Regions from separate parts of the Homo sapiens genome. Here region 1 is linked to region 2. Evidence: promoter capture Hi-C in 16 types of primary human blood cells and fetal thymus (Javierre and others, 2016). All regions are on one chromosome and are shown on one strand. Each heading gives the region's core, a stretch centred on a gene start or on the middle of the fragment in contact. The rest is flanking DNA. Distances are from core to core; before and after follow the strand shown. Region 1 has its middle 9.6 kb from the start of IGF2BP3. Region 2 holds the start of SP8 (Sp8 transcription factor).

What was found. Contacts are between HindIII fragments. The CHiCAGO score rates a contact against its expected background, and 5 or more counts as called.
Region 1: a fragment that was not itself captured here is called in contact with the fragment with the promoter of SP8 in region 2 in 1 of 17 cell types (naive B cells); the score reaches 5.5 in naive B cells.

What each region holds. Positions count from the first base shown.
Region 1 is chr7:23,478,782-23,481,481 of GRCh38, forward strand. It overlaps the pseudogene LOC389473. Among named protein-coding and RNA genes, the nearest start is that of IGF2BP3, 9.6 kb to the left of the region's middle. The HindIII fragment of the contact is 581 bases long and covers 1,082-1,662 here.
Region 2 is chr7:20,785,599-20,788,298 of GRCh38, forward strand. SP8 (Sp8 transcription factor) reads right to left here and starts at 1,288. Exons shown (of 2, transcript NM_182700.6): 1 at 1,180-1,288; 2 at 1-197. The coding sequence starts at 1,200. The HindIII fragment of the contact is 6,810 bases long and covers 5-2,700 here.

The DNA of each region.
Region 1 (2,700 bases), core at 122-2,621, 2.7 Mb after region 2:
AAGTGTTTTCTTAACCATCAGAATACTTCAGTATGATGTCTTTAAAGCTGGGGAGATAAGACTAACAAAACAGTATAGATTGAACTGAAATTACGATGCTACTAGTATATCACCATTAGAACTTACATCATATAAATGTGTTTTCCATTTTATGTCTTTCTATAACTCGTTTTCTATTTAAAATATATGTAGTTAGTATTATACATATAAAACATCCATCAACATTATTAAAACATGAACGTAAGCAGTTTAAAAATTGGTAGAAATAATACGGGTCACATATTTTGAAGTTAAATTTATCTCGAAAATATGAAGTTATCACAAATCCTTTCTGTTGGATTGTTCTACCACTTCTATTTGTGTACATTATCCATAATAGATACATTAATCAAAATAAGCAGTGTTATTTGAAAAAATGTCTCTATAAAAAAAGAGCTAAAGATAGATACTGGTCTGTTCTTGTCGTGAAAACAACAATGGTTTTTGAAACTTAAATAAGGAGAGAAAACTCAGATTTAAGTGAAGTGTGGGTCCTGTTATTTACTGTCTTTATTGGGGGTTAGGAGAGCTGAGATTAAACTGTAATGTTGCTTCAGGAATGACTACCAACAAAGTTTTAAGTTGCTATAAATGAAGAATATTATTTCAGTCAAATGATAGCCCCTTCCTGTTATTCTTTAAAATAATTATTTCCTTGTTTATTAAATATCCTTAAATTATTTCATTGCAAAGTGAGGGGAAGTCATATTGTATTAGGATAACCAAACATTTTAACACTTTGAGCCTCTAAATGGATGAAGAATGCCCATTGCTTTTTAAACAAACCAAAACAAAAACAAAAAAAAGTTTATCTTTGTTAAAATAAGTGATGCATTTATCTTCTTTCTTTACCTATGGCAATGTTCTGCTAACATAGTAATAAGCTGAGTTACTCTCTGGATGTGGCAATTAATAGAAATAAATATATTACAGTGAAGCACAGAGAGGATATATAAGCAAAAAAAATAAAAACATCAGATTTATGGAACTCTGGATTAAGCTAAAATTTAGAGTATCTTCTTACAACCAAATCCAGTGATCAAGCTTATAGTCTTTAAAACCTGTAACAAAGTAAAAACTTGAAAGTATTGTTAATATGCAGTTATTACTAATTATGATAAAAATCTATTTGTGGTTTTGTTTAATGTAACTATATAATATAAAATACAATTATTTTGTTTTTAAAGGTTTTTTCCCATGTTTCTTTTGAGTAAATTCAAAAACTTGAAAGTTAAACTGAGCCGGGCGCAGTGACTCATGCCTGTAATCCAAGCACTTTGGGAGGCTGAGGCAGGCGGATCACAAGGTCAGGAGATCGAGACCAGCCTGGCCAATATGGTGAAACCCCGTCTCTACTAAAAATATAAAAATCAGCTGGGTGTGGTGGCACGCACCTGTAGTCCCAGCTACTTGGGAGGCTGAGGCAGGAGAATTGCTTGAACCTGGGAAGCAGAAGTTGCAGTGAGCCATGTTGGTGCCACTGCACTCCAGCCTGGGCAACAGAGCGAGACTCCATCTCCAAAAAAGAAAAAAAGAAAGTTAAACTGAAGACTGTTAAAGTTGTTTTATAAAAATCAGATATCTGTGGATTAAAACATGGTCCTTTTCTAACTTTTCCATGAAAGCTTGGAATATAACCTATTAAAAGCTAACTGACAGCCAGGCGCAGTGGCTCACGCCTGTAATCCCAGCACTGTGGGAGGCCGAGGCAGTCAGATCGCCTGAGGTCAGGAGTTCGAGACCAGCCTGGCCAACATGTTGAAACCCCGTCTCGCCCTCCCCCCCAAGCTGTTTTTCTAGCATGTTGCCCTTTTTCAACCACATTTGTGTTTCAGGTGTAGAGAGGAGAGTGAACAGGGAGCGGGGCTTTTGTCTGTTGGTCTCCCTGGACTGAAGAGAGGGAGAATAGAAGCCAAGACTAAGATTCTCAAAATGGTTTATTACCCAGAACTCTTTCTCTGGGTCAGTCAAGAACCATTTCCAAACAAGGACATGGAGGGAAGGCTTCCTAAGGGAAGACTTCCTGTCCCAAAGGAAGTGAACTACAAGAAGAACGATGAGACAAACGCTGCCTCCCTGACTCTACTGGGCAGCAGTGAACTCCGCTCCCCAAGAATCAGTTACCTCCACTTTTTTTAATCGTAACACCTCCATTTGTATTACATACGGTGTATGGGTATTCATGAGGTCATGGTACCATATATGGGATTTTTTTCTGTGTAAATCATTAAGTATAAGAGGAAACTATGGGACTCTGAGCCTTGCTTTAGAGAATTTACAGTGGACAAATAGGTATCATCAAACCAGTTTTTAATCATTCTGACCCAAGTGAAAATGCTCAGAATTTCACACTGTGAATCCACGTTTACAACCCTTACAGGTGGGCCTTCAGGCCTGGTTCGCTACAACAATGTCTTCCACAACTCAAATTCCCACCGCGTTCACACAACCAGTGCACTCCTGCCTTTTCACTCACACAGCTCCCGACCGCTTCTTGCAGAGGCTGAGAGTCCCCCCCTTTTTCTTCATTTAGATGTAACAAACCTAGTAGTTTATGTTTATCAATTGTCTGTATATCTCTATATTTTATCCATGTACTCTTGATGTATAGACATAGTTTGAAACTCGTTTCCTTGTGGTAAGTGACCGAGATGCTGCCAC
Region 2 (2,700 bases), core at 38-2,537:
CCGAAGCTTGAGAGACTGGAACCCACTACGTTGCAGCTGGCGGAAGAAGAGGACGAGGAGCGTTTCCAGGGGTGGAAGCCTTTGCCGAAGGAAGAAGAGCTGTCCGAGAGGGAGGAGGGAGACGGGCTGGGGCTGCCTATCTTATTACAGGTAGCGGCAAGCATGGCCAGAGGAGTCGATCCCAACCTCGGTTCTTCCTGCGAGGAGGAGAGGAGAAGGAGTGGGGGAGGGGAGGTGGGCAAAGGGCCGGTGGGGGAGGAAAGGAAGAAATGTGCATCAGTCCTTCGGTAGCCTCCAAAGCGCCCCACTGCACCCCATCTCTCGCTGCGGCGCGCCGCCACCAACTCACCTGGCACCCCCAACAGCCCCGGCGCCCGGCCGCTTCCTACTCTACAGGAGGGGACAAGTTTGGCTGCCGGCGTCTGATTCGGGAGCAAGCACCACGCTAAAGAAGAGTTTGACAAGTATTCTCACCTAAAACAACACTCTCTTGCACACAAAGCCCCAGACACTTCGTAACAAACAAGCAAAAAGTCCAGATTGGAGAGGAAGGAAGTTTTCTTTGCCGAGAAGCCTGGGGGAAAACCATTGGATTGCTTTTAAGAGCGCTTCCCTGTAATCCGGAGAGCTTTGAAAAACCTGTTCGGGTCCCCAGAAACCCATCCTGGGTTGTTTCTCCCAGGCCAAAAGAAATCAAACTGTAGGGCTCACTCTTTCTTCCTGCTTTTCTTTCTTTCTTTTTTTAAAAGCATATCTACAGTAGTAAAAACGAGACGAGTTCAACGTACCTGCGAGACAAGGCGGGCTGCAGAATTTTTTTTTAAGGGTTAGGGGAAGAATCTGCACTTTGCCCAGAAGGAAAAACTTGCTCTCTTTACCCCCGAAATCGGTGCCTGTAAAATGGGCTGGACGCAGGTCTCCCGGGCAGGGAGCAGCGAGGCGCTGCGCGGTGGCTTGTCTAAATGCCCTTCGAACCTTTTCCTGCGCTGAAAAAAAGTGACTCTGCCCCCTTCTCCCCCTTTTTCTTTTCTCCAAACTCACTTGTATTTAAAGAAAAAAAAAAAAAGCTCTCAATAGAGAGACTGATAGCCCGTGGCCTGGCCGGGGCGACTTTAACCCCCTCCAATCGGCAATAAAAGGAAACTAATTAAACCAGCAAGAGAAAATCCTGAGACTCACCCCTAGAAGTGAAGTTGCCATCACACAAAAGTGCCCTCCTCCTCTCAGAGGATCTTTTTTATATTGATAAATCAGAGGCAGTGTTTTTTTTAGAGGTGTGCAATACAATGATCAGTTCCGCCCATTCCACCACAATTGTAGCTCCCTCTCCGGCTTTGAAGTGCCGCGGAGGCGCGGCCAGCCAATCTGCGGCCTCGCCGGGCCGCGCGGCGCGCGCGCCGTGAGGTCATCGGCGCCGCCGCCTGCCGCCGTGGTGGAAGGGGGAGTGGGAGCGGAGGGGGCGGGGGCGGCTGCGTGTGTTACAAAGCGCAAAGCGCGCGCTCGCGTGTATGAGTGTGTGTGTAACAATGTAACTGTGTGCGAGTGTGACCAGGCGTAGGAGAGGACAGTGCGGAGACTGGAGGGAGGGGGGATGGGGGTGTGACACCGTAACAGTGACAGTGTGGTAAAGGCGGGGAGTGGAGAGAGTGCAGAAAAGGGAGGGTTGTGTGATAAGATAACTGCGTGTGCGACAAAGCGGGGTAGAGGGACAGAGCAGTTAAGTGTTGGGAAGGGTGTGAGTGTACGGTAGTGTAACTGACAAACCTAGGGAGGGAAGAGGGACTCAACTGGGTGGGGGGTGAGTGTGTTTGGTGTTGGGGGAGAAGGAGGGCTGTGAACATGTGTATTTGTGCGACAGAGAAGAGGGAAGGGTGTGTGTGGGCGCTTGTGTTGTGTGCGCGCACCAAAGCTGGTAGTGGGGAATGGGAACAATGCAATAAAGTGTGTGTTTGTAAGAGAGAGACTGTCGAGCTGAAGAGAGAAACCGACTAAGTTGATGGAGGCTGAGTGAATAAATATTCACAAACGCTGCCCCTGTCGCCAACTTCCTTTGGCTCCTTGTACCTAAAATCTTGAGTGATTTTTTTTTCTTAACTTGGTAAACAGCGTCACTACATTTTTGAAGAAGATCTTTAAACCCACCTTTTCTTTCCCGGCTCTCCAACGAAATAGTAGAAAGGTTGAGAGGCTAAGGGTTATTTTTAGGGATGCGTTGGGACGTGGATGCGCGCCTGCGCGCCCATGAGTTGTTTCTTTGATGCCGTGGCTTTTTTTTTTTTTTTTTTTTTTTTTTTCCCTGAGGTGGAATTCTGCTTTAGAAGTGCACGTCTCACTCTAGGGGAGGAGGTGTGTGTGTCCCGTGGTGTTGAGTAAATTTCAATACAAAAGGATTAGATAGAGAAGAGAGTAAGCGAGGGTCGTTTTTTCTTTGGGTAAGAAATTGAAGAGCGTTTTACGGAATTTAGAAATTTTCACAGAAAACCTCACTGCCTCTTTCTGAGAAAAGAATCAGGACTTTGATCGAAATATATGGGTTCTATTTATCTAAGAATAGAGAGGAGCTTTTGACAAATCTTGGACATTTATCCAGGCGTCAGTGTCTAATGGCGATTGGGCCAGAGATCTGTCTATGAGTGTGTGTGCATGTTAATAGATACACTTAGTTCAAATTCGGTGGGGTTTAGTCATTTGCTTGCCATT